Regions from separate parts of the Homo sapiens genome. Here region 1 is linked to region 2. Evidence: promoter capture Hi-C in 16 types of primary human blood cells and fetal thymus (Javierre and others, 2016). All regions are on one chromosome and are shown on one strand. Each heading gives the region's core, a stretch centred on a gene start or on the middle of the fragment in contact. The rest is flanking DNA. Distances are from core to core; before and after follow the strand shown.

Region 1 (5,877 bases), core at 2,604-5,103, 140 kb before region 2:
TCATAAATTGATGTGGATGGTCTGCCACTGTGGGTTTCATCTTCAACATCATTTCATCCCTTCTTTATTTTGTTTCTTTTTGGAGATGGAGTCTTGCTCTGTCGCCCAGGCTGGAGTGCAATGGCGTGGTCTCGGCTCACTGCAACCTCCGCCTCTTGGGTTCAAGCAGTTCTCCTGCCTCAGCCTTCCCAGGTAGCTGGGATTATAAGAGCCCACCACAATGCCCAGCTAATTTTTGTATTTTTGGTGGAGACGGGGTTTCACCATGTTGGCCAGGCTGGTCTTGAACTCCTGACCTCAGGTGATTCGCCTGCCTCAGCATCTCAAAGTGCTGAGATTACAGGCATGAGCCACCACGCCTGGCCAAGTATTCTTAAAGAAAATAAATACTAGGAGTCTGTAGTAGAGGCACAGCCCGGCCTAATCTCATCCCTTCTTAAAACAAATTATCTGGCCACGTGCGGTGGCTCATGCTTGTAATCCCAGCACTTTGGGAGGCCGAGGCAGGTGTATCACCTGAGGTCAGGAGTTCAAGACCAGCCTGGCCAACATGGCAAAACCCCATCTCTACTAAAAATACAAAAATTAGCCGGGCGTGGTGGCAGGCGCCTGTAATCCCAGCTACCCAGGGAGGCTGAGGCAGGAGAATCACTGGAACGTGGGAGGCAGAGGCTGCAGCGAGCCTAGATCATGCCACTGCACTCCAGCCTGGGTGACAGAGTGAGACTCCCTCTCAAAAAACAACAACAAAAAACAATTTATCTATTTGTAAACTGCTGATTTCTTTGAGGCATTGTCCCCATAAGCTTTTCGTAAAGCTTCAATGATCTCACCATTCTTCCACCCAAGCTTAACCATAAACTTGATATTTGTTCTTGCTTCAATTTTAGCAGAATTCATGTTACTCTTATAGGGGCTCTTTTCAAACTAATGTCTTATCCTTCATAGTGCCTCAAAGTAGATCCTGCTCAGACATGTTATAACAAGTTAGTACAAATTTATTTTGGTGCAAAAATTTTTTGAAATCTATGCATAGTTTTTTCATAATACACATTTTTCATAAACTTTGTGAAGACCTCTTGTATGTCCAGCTGAATACTGCAGGATTATATAACTGGTAACTCATGGCCCTTGCCCACAAAGTGCTAGTGGCGAGTTATCACTACCTTTTCCAGTCCCCTGCCCCTTTTCTTGTTTGTTGATGGTGTCATCTTCCCAGCCACTTAGGCAGCAAACTCTGGAGTTGTATTCTGCCTTTTCCTTTTCTTTCATTTAGTATTTAATTACAGCACAAGTTCTGTCAAATATTCCTTCAACAAATTTCCAATTTATCTCTTCCTTCTTGTCTCCCAACTCCTCACTCCAATCTGTTCTGCATGACTGGTCATCCTAAAATACAGATTTCATCATATCATTCCTCAGAAATACCATGCAGGGTTAAGCATGATGGCTCATGCCTGTAATCCCAGCACTTTAGGAGACTGAAGTGGATTGCTTGAGCCCAGGAGTTCGAGACCAGCCTGAGCAACATAGTGAGATCTTGTCAATACAACAACAACAAAAAAAATTAAAAAAAAATTAGCTGGGCATGGTGGTGTGTTGCTTGTAGTCCCAGCTACTCAGGAGGCTGAGGCAGGAGGATCACTTGAGCCCAAAAGGTTGAGGCTGCAGTGAGCCATGATTGAGCTACTGAACTCCAGGCTGCAGTAAGCCATGATTGAGCTACTGAACTCCAGTCTGGGTGACAGAGCAAGACCCTGTCAAAAAGAGAGAGAGACAGAGAGACAGAGAGAATGGAAGGAAGGAGGGAGGGAGGGAGGGAGGGAAGGAAGGAAGGAAGGAAGGAAGGGAGGGAGGGAGGGAGGGAGGGAGGCTGGGTGTGGTGGCTCACACCTGTAATCCCAACACTTTGGGAAGGCAAGGTGGGTGGATCACCTGAGGTCAGGAGTTTGAAACCAGCCTGGCCAACTTGGTGAAGCCCCGTCTCTACTAAAAATATAAAAATTTGCTGGGCATGGTGGCAGGTGCCTGTAATCCCAAATACTTGGGAGGCTGAGGCAGGAGAATCACTTGAACCTGGGAGGCGGAAATTGCAGCAAGTCAAGATCACGCCATTGCACTCCAGCCTGGGCAATGGAGTGGGACTCTGTCTCAAAACAAACAAAAACAAAACAAAGACAAAAAACCACAAAAACAAACAAAAAAAACTCAACACCTTTTACAATAGCTGCAAAAAATAAAATAAAATATTTAGGAATATACCTAACCAAGGAGGCAAAAGACCTCTACAAGGAAAATTACAAAACACTGCTGAAAGAAATGATAGATGACACAAACAAATGGAAACACATCCCATGTTCATGGATGGGTAGAAATCAATATTGTGAAAATGACCATACTGCCAAAAGCAATCTACAAATTCAACGCAATCCCCATCAAAATACCACCACCATTCTTCACAGAATTAGAAAAAACAATTCTAAAAAAAAAAATTATAAAATTTATATGGAACCAAAAAAGAGCTTGCATAGCCAAAGCAAGGCTAAGCAAAAAGAACAAATCTGGAGGCATCACATTACCTGATTTTAAACTATACTATAAGGCCATAGTCACAAAACAGCATAGTACTGATATAAAAATAGGCACATAGGCCGGGTGCAGTGGCTCACACCTGTAATCCTAGCACTTTGGGAGGCTGAGACAGGCGGATCACCTGAGGTCAGGAGTTTGAGACCAGCCTGGCCAACATGGCCAAACCCCATCTCTACTAAAAATAAAAAAATTAGCCCGGCGTGGTGGTGCACACCTGTAATCCCAGCTACTCAAGAGGCTGAGGAAGGAGAATTGCTTGAACCTGGAAGGTGGAGGTTGCAGCGAGCCAAGATCACGCCACTGCACTCCAGCCTGCTCGACAGGAGCGAGACTCCATCTCAAAATAATAATAATAATAATAATAATAATAATAAAATAAATAAATAGGCACATAGACCAATGGAACAGAATAGAGAACCCAGAAATAAACCCAAATATTTACACCCAACTGATCTTTGACAAAGCAAACAAAAACATAAAGTGAGGAAAGGACACCTTTTCAACAAATGGTGCCTGGACAATTGGCTAGCCATGTGTAGGAGAATGAAACTGGATCCTCATCTCTCACCTTAAATAAAAATCAACTCAAGATGGATTAAGGACTTAAATCTAAGACCTGAAACTATAAAAAGTCTAGAAAATAACTTAGACATTGGCTTAGGCAAGAATTTCATGACGAAGAAGCCAAAAGCAAATGCAATAAAAACAAAGACAAATAGTTGGGACTTAATTAAACTAAAGAGATTTTGCATGGCAAAAGTAACAGCCAGCAGAGTAAACAGACAACCCACAGAGTGAGAGAAAATCTTCACAATCTATATCTGACAAAGGATTAATATCCAGAATCTATAACAAAAACAAACTCAAACAAATCAGTAAGAAAAAAAAATCCCATCAAAAAGTGGGCTAAGGACATGAATACACAATTCTCAAAAGAAGATATACAAATGACCAACAAACATATTTAAAAAAGCTCAACATCACTAATGATCAGGGAAATGCAAATCAAAACCACAATGCGATACCATTATACTGCTGCAAGAATGGCCGCAGTAAAAAAATCAAAAAAGGCCGGGCGCGGTGGCTCATGCCTGTAATCCCAGCACTTTGGGAGGCGGAAGCGGGTGGATCACGAGGTCAGGAAATCAAGGCCATCCTGGCTAACACGGTGAAACCCCGTCGCTACTAAAAATACAAAAAATTAGCCGGGCGTGATGGCGGGCGCCTGTAATCACAGCTACAGGGGAGGCTGAGGCAGGAGAATGGTGTCAACCCGGGAGGCGGAGCTTGCAGTGAGCCGAGTCGCGCCACTGCACTCCAGCCTGGGCTACACAGGCAGACTCCGTCTCAAAAAATAAATAAATAAATAAATAAATAAATAAATAAATAAATAAATAAATCAAAAAACAGGCATGGTGGCTCATGCCTGTAATCCCAGCACTTTGGGAGGCCAAGGCAGGCAGATCACCTGAGGCCAGGAGTTTGAGACCAGCCTGGCCAACGTGATGAAAGCCTGTCTCTACTAAAAGTACAAAAATTAGCTATGCGTGGTGGCAGGCGCCTGTAATCCCAGCTACTCGGGAAGCTAAAGCATGAGAATCGCTTAAACCTGGGAGTTGGAGGTTGCAGTGAGCCAAGGTCACGCCACTGCACTCCAGCCTGGGGGATAGTGCAAGACTCTTGTCTCTAAAAAAATAAATAAAATAAAAAAGCAGTAGATGTTGGCATGGATGCAGTGATCAGGGAACAATTCTACACTGCTGGTGGGCATGTAAACTAGTACAGCCACTATGGAAAACTATGTGGAGATTCCTTAAAGAATTAAAAGTAGAACTACCATTTGATCCAGCAGTCTCACTACTGGGTATCTATCCAGAGGAAAAGAAGTCATTATACGAAAAAGATACTTGTACACACATGTTTATAGCAGCACAATTCTCAGTTGCAAAAATGTGGAACCAACCCAAATGCCCATCAATCAACGAGTGGATAAAGAAACTGTGGTCCGGGCGCAGTGGCTCATGCCTGTAATCCCAGCACTTTGGGAGGCCAAGGTGGGCGGATCATGAGTTCAGGAGATGGAGACCACCCTGGCTAACACGGTGAAACCCCGTCTCTACTAAAAATATGAAAAATTAGCCGGGCGTGGTGGCATGTGCCTGTAATCCCAGCTACTCAGGAGGCTGAGGCAGGAGAATCGCTTGAACCCAGGAGGCTTAGAGGTTGCAGTGAGCTGAGATCACACCACTGCACTCCAGCCTGGGCAACAGAGCAAGACTCCCGTCTCAAAGAAAAAAAAAAAAGAATCTGTGGTGTATATATATATACGATGGAATACTACTCAGCCATAAAAAGGAATGAATTAATGGCATTTGCAGTGACCTGGATGAGATTGGAGACTAATATTCTAAGTGAAGTAACTCAGGAATGGAAAATCAAACATCGTATGTTCTCACTGATATGTGCGAGCTAAGCTATGAGGACGCGAAGGCTTAAGGATGATACAGTGGATTTTGGGGACCTGGAGGAAAGGGCGGGAGGGGGGCGAGGGATAAAAGACTACAAATAGGGTACGGTGTATACTGCTTGGGTGATGGGTGCATCAAAATCTCACAAATCACCACTAAAGAACTTACTCATGTAACCAAATACCACCTGTACCCTAATAACTTATGAAAACAGCAACACTTCCATGGCCCTTGGGTTCTTGGGATGAAGAAACAATCAAAATGTTGTAGCCAGTGATCTTCTGTTACAGAAAGATGAATGAAACACAAAGAAGGGAGCCATTCATTCTGCCCTGGCTGTGTGTCAATGCTTCAAGAAAAGGTAAAAATTCTTGGGTTTGGCATTCAAGATCATTCACCCATTTCTAAATCCTCAGATCCCATTGCTTACTGCCCCCACTCAAACTCGTGTTCTCAGCCATCCACAATTGCTTTCACGCTCCAAGCTCGTTGGAGCAGTTTCTTCGCCTGGAATGATCCCACCCACTTGCTGCTACCTTCCCACTGTCTCCCTGGCGAATGCCTAATCCATTCAGATCCAGTTTATCACATCATTTTCTGGTGAAAACTTCCTGAATTCCTCAGGCATTTACAGGCCTTTTTGAGATCCCACCAGCCCTGTAAATGTCTATTATAGATATTGTTAAATGATGATTCCCCAGCCTCCTCCACCAGGCCCTGCATACAGTCTTGCTGTATGCATGATAGGGGTGCAAGGATGTAGGTGTCAGTCTTCCTTGGCTGCAAAGGCTGAGAAACTAAAAATCCCAGAGTACCC
Region 2 (5,607 bases), core at 1,974-4,473:
CCACCACATCTGGCTAATTATTATTTTTTTTTTTTTGAGACCGAGTCTTGCTCTGTCGCCCAGGCTGGAGTGCAGTGGCCGGATCTTGGTTCACTGAAACCTCCGCCTCCTGGGTTCAAGTGATTCTCCTATCTCAGCTTCCTGAGTAGCTGGGATTACAGGTGGCCGCCACCAAACCTGACTAATTTATTTATTTATTTATTTATTTATTTATTTATTTATTTATTTATTTATTTTTAGTAGAGACGGGGTTTCACCATGCTGGCCAGGCTGGTCTCGAACTCCCGACCTCAGGCCCTCAGGCGATCTGCCCGCCTTGGCCTCCCAAAGTGCTGGGATTACAGGTGTGAGCCACTGTGCCCGGTCCCTAATTTTTTTTTTTTTTTGAGATGGAGTTTCGCTCTTGTCATCTAGGCTAGAGTGCGATGGTACGATCTCGGCTCACTGCCACCTCCACCCACTGGGTTCAAGTGATTCTCCTGCCTCAGCCTCCTGAGTAGCTGGGATTACAGGCACCTGCCACCACGCCTGGCTAATTTTTGTATTTTTAGTAGAGACGGGGTTTCACCATGTTGGCCAGGCTGGTCTTGAACTCCTGACCTTAGGTGATCCGCCCACCTCGGCCTCCCAAAGTGCTGGGATTACAGGTGTGAACCACTGCACTCGGCTAATTTTTGTATTTTTTAGTAGAGACGGTGTTTCACCATGTTGGCCAGGCTGGTCTCAAACCCCTGACCTCAAGTGATCCACCCACCTCAGCCTCCCAAAGTGCTGGGATTACAGGTGTGAGCCACCATGCCTGGCCTTATGAGTGTGTTCTTGGTTAAACAAAGATTCAAACAAGAAGTTAAAAGATAAAATCTCAGCCAGGTGCAGTGGCTCATGCCTATAATCTCAGCACTTTGGGAGGCCAATGTGGGAGGACTGCTTGAGCCCAGGAGTTTGAGAACAGCCTGGGTAACATTCAAGAACTCTACAAAAACATAAAAAATAACCAGGTGTGGTGGTGCTTGCCTGTAGTTCTAGCTACTCCAGAGGCTGAGGTGGGAGGATCACTGGAACCCAGGAGTTCGAGGTTACAGTGAGCTATGATCATGCCACTGCCCTCCAGCCTGGGTGACAGAGTGAGACCCTGTCTTAAAAAAAAAAAAAATCTCCTTTTGCCTTCTCACTTCAAACCTGCTGTTTTTCCCTAGTGCTGACCATCATCAGTGGTCACAACAGTATGGTCTGTATCCTTGCAGACATTTTTCTATGTAGGATGAGCAGAAAGGAAAATGGATTTAAGTTAATGTCCAACTCATCCACTGTATTGAACTTCACTGAATCTGCTCTACACCCTCAAAGGGACAAATCTGAAGAACAAATTAGAGGTGTCCATGGTATAACTCCTCCTAAGCATCATTTGCTTCTCAGATTGATCTCAACTAGGAAAAGTTTTTGTTAATCGATTTTAGCTAAATATATATGTGTGTGTGTGTGTGTGTGTGTGTGTGTGTGTGTGTGTGTGTATATATATATTTTTTTTTTTCTTGAGACAGGGTCTTGCTGTGTCGCCCAGGCTGGAGTGCAGTGGCGCCATCTCGGCTCACTGCAACCTCTGCCTCCTGGGTTCAAGCAATTCTCCTGCCTCAGCCTCCCGGGTAGCTGGGATTATAGGCATGTGCCACCATGCCTGGCTAATTTTTGGTATTTTTAATAGAGACTGGGTTTCACCACATTGGCCAGGCTGGTCTTGAACTCCTGACTTCAGGTGATCCGCCTGTCTCAGCCTCCTCCCAAAGTGCTAGGATTATAGACATGAGCCCAGCCTCTAATTAGATATTTTTATGAAATGTAGGTTTTAACAGGATAAATGTGATACATGTATTGTTCTATAACTTGCTTTACAACATGACCTAGGGACCTTTCTCTATTAGTTCATAGAAATCTTTATTCTCTGAATTGCTGAATGATATAGATGTACCATAGATAACCATTCCTCTGTCAGACATTTAAATTATTGCTGCTTTTGTATAATTACCAACAGTGCTATGTGAACATCCTAGCATGTGCAGTGTGTCTCTGAATGTCTATGCTGAATGAATATTTCAAGTATCCAAAAGCAGAAATGCTATACTAATATTGATAGGTTTAAACTGCCTTTTAAATAGCTGTATCCATTTATATTCTTACCTACAGGATATGAGAGTAACAGTGTCTCCCTACTTTGCCAAAAGAAGGTATTATAAATCTTTAAAATTTTGCATTTTGATAGTTAAAAAATAATATTTCACTTAAATATGTATTCTCTGACTACCGAGGTTGAGGAAGTTTCGAGTTTATTAATAATTTATGAGTTACACATATGTAATTCAGATAACACATAATATAGAAACATGAATATATTGTGCATGTATGTGTGCCTATACAAATATATATATATATAAATAATATATATATAAAAATATATATGTAAATATATATATATATATATATATATATATATATATATATATATATATATATATTTGTCCCTGGTGAAATGTTTGTATTTAATCTGAGAAGTAGCTATTGTTGGCAAAAAAGCCCAGGGAAGAAGTATTTATCTGTTATGCTCAACCTGCCAGATCACTAGCTCTGAAGGGACCTTTAATGACCTAAAATACAATGTAATTGTTAATAACAGAACATGGGAGACAGAATCAGGATCTATCTATGAAATCGGACATGACCCATTTATTAAGGCAGATGACCAAGAAGTTATTATCTAGTAAGAAAGACTTTTTTGGTTCTAGAAACATGGTTTATTGCACAAAAAACAATGACATTTTATTAGGTTCCCCCAGTGGCAAAAGTTGCATACAAACAGCACACAAATACCTCCTGTCATTTTAAATTTGACATCTCTGAATTATGGAGGAATCATTCACTCAGCTTAATTTGGGGCTCATGACTTTAGTCTTCTAGATTGCAGTGTGTTATCAGGACTATTATAAGCATTCTTTATCTGTGCTGTCCAAAAAAGCAGCCATTAGGTAGATGCAGCTCTTTACATTTTTATTAAAATTATTTAAAATTAAAAATTCAATTGCTCTGACACACAAACCATAATGCAAGTGTTCAATAGCTACATTTGGCTACTGGCTGCCTTATTGGCTAGCACAGATAGAATATTTCCATTGTTGCAGAAAGTTCTATTGGATGGTGCTGTTTTAAAAGCAAGGATAAGCAGAAAGGGACATGGATTTTAGTTGATGGATGACTCACTCACTACATTCAACTGAACTGAATCTGCTCTATACCAGCAAAGGGACAAATTCAGAAAATAAATTGAAGATGGCCATGCTGTAACTTCTAAACATGGTTTGCTTCTCAGATTTACCTAAACTAAGAAAGGTTTGTGTTAATCTCTCTGTTTTAGCTTATTAAGAAAGAGTTGTTTGAAATGTTTTTATCTTTTTCTTTTGAATTCTATGGTACTGTATATATGTATACCAGTTTTTATGTCATTTGCTATGAAAGCTTTAATTTGTAGCTAAATACTACTGCTCCTTCTTTCAGGAAATACTATGTGTTGTCCTTTATGAAAAAAATATTTTCTTTCTTTTTATGATTATAAAAGTAAAATGCTTATAGTAAAAAATTAAAATACATGTAATTACAATATATTAAGTATATAATTTGTAATCCCAACATCCAGAGCTAATCACCGTTAATATTTTCATGAATATCCTTCTAGACTTTTTTGTATACATCTGTAAATGTAACTAAACTTATAATAATGGGGCCATATTATTCTATTTTATAACATCAATTTCACTGAAATGAAATATCAAATGCCATTTTATGTATGTTTATCATTTCTACTGGTTGCATAGTATCACACCGTGGATGTAGTCGATTATTTAACCAGTTTTTCTTGTATTATTATTTTATGTTTTTAGCTTATGACTATTATAAACAACATGAATTACATCTTTGCTTACATTATTATTATTTATGAACCATAAATGAGACTTAACTTGCTTACTTTTTTTTTATTTTTTGAGACAGAGTCTCACTCTATTGCCCAGGCTGGAATGCAGTGGCCAGATCTCGGCTCACTGCAACCTTCACCTCCCAGGTTCAAGCGATTCTCCTGCCTCAGTCTCCTGAGTAGCTGGGATTACAGGCATGTGCCACCATGCCCGGCTAATTTTTGTATTTTTAGTAGAGATGGGGTTCAACCATGTTGCTCAGGCTGGTCTCGAACTCCTGACCTCGTAATCCGCCCGCCTGTGCCTCCCAAAGTGCTGGGATTACAGGCGTGAGCCACCGCGCCTGGCCAACTTGCTTACATTTTAAAGTGCTTTGGGTTGTTGGGTCAGAGTATGCTATTATTATTATTATTATTATTATTATTATTATTATTATTTATTTTTTTTTGAGACAGAGTCTTGCTCTGTCGCCCAGGCTGGAGTGCAATGGTGTGATCTCGGCTCACTGCAACCTCTGCCTCTGGGTTCAAGTGATTCTTCTGCCTCAGCCTCCCGAGTAGCTGGGACTACAGGCGCCCGCCACCACGCCCGACTAATTTTTGTATTTTTAGTAGAGCAAGGGTTTCAACCATGTTGGCCAGGCTGGTCTCAAACTCCTGACCTCAAGTGATCCGCTGGCCTCGGCCTCCTAAAGTATTGGGATTACAGGCGTGAGCCACCGTGCCCGGCCAGAGTATGCTATTATTAACATAATAAAGTCAATGGAAAGTTTCTCTATTTCAGGAATACAACTATATTTTAGAAGGTTGATGCTTTTGCAAATCGTATTAACAGAGCCGGGCGCGGTGGCTCACGCTTGTAATCCCAGCACTTTGGGAGGCCGAGGCGGGAGGATCACGAGGTCAGGAGATCGAGATCACGGTGAAACCCCGTCTCTACTAAAAATAACAAAAAAATTAGCCGGGCGTGGTGGCAGGCGCCTGTAGTCCCAGCTACCCGGAGAGGCTGAGGCAGGAGAATGGCGTGAACCCGGGAGGCGGAGCTTGCAGTGAGCCGAGATCGCGCCACTGCACCCCAGCCTGGGCGACAGGGCGAGACTCCGTCTCAGAAAACAAACGAACAAAAAAAACAGAACAAAGGCTGAAGAAAGGAACTAAAGACTCTAGAACTAGTTATTTAAAAAGCCAAAGCTATCACTATTTTACATTCCTAAATTTAAATGATTAAACTTAAGAGAAAACAGATAATCTCTTAATGTTTCTTTCCGGCAAATTTGAAGTTTGCTTACAGAGGAAAAATAATAGTTTAGTAAAAAATTTAAGGAGCTGACTCTAAAGCCACAATGATTGGGTTTGAATGCCAGCTCCAGCTGTGTGACCTCAGGTAAATTAAGGTGTGCTTCCGTTTCCTCATCTGTAAGATGGGGGAAACAACATACTTACCGCATAGGATTTTAGTGATGAACACATCTTGTATCTTAGTAGTTTGTTTGATTGTGTAACAGTTCCCTTTATATAAAGGGGACAGGACATACATTTATATTTTAAATGAAAAATAATGAAAATATTCACTTTTAAAATCTTTCCTTTGGGGTATATTTCCTCTGAGATAACCTGGGATACCAACCTTAATATGCAATCTGCCGGCA

What was found. The method cuts DNA at HindIII sites, captures the fragments that hold promoters and counts their contacts. A CHiCAGO score of 5 or more calls a contact.
Region 1: a fragment that was not itself captured here is called in contact with the fragment with the promoter of GJA9 in region 2 in 2 of 17 cell types (total CD8 T cells and naive CD4 T cells); the score reaches 5.8 in total CD8 T cells.

What each region holds. Positions count from the first base shown.
Region 1 is chr1:39,017,154-39,023,030 of GRCh38, reverse strand. No RefSeq gene overlaps it. Among named protein-coding and RNA genes, the nearest start is that of NDUFS5, 6.3 kb to the left of the region's middle. RefSeq lists enhancers at 2,630-2,799, 5,331-5,500, 5,158-5,866. The HindIII fragment of the contact is 6,004 bases long and covers 852-5,877 here.
Region 2 is chr1:38,879,203-38,884,809 of GRCh38, reverse strand. It overlaps GJA9 (gap junction protein alpha 9), which reads left to right and starts at 3,223. Exons shown (of 2, transcript NM_030772.5): 1 at 3,223-3,378. It overlaps GJA9-MYCBP (GJA9-MYCBP readthrough), which reads left to right and starts at 3,184. Exons shown (of 3, transcript NR_037637.1): 1 at 3,184-3,378. RefSeq lists a silencer at 4,999-5,183. The HindIII fragment of the contact is 5,576 bases long and covers 1-3,506 here.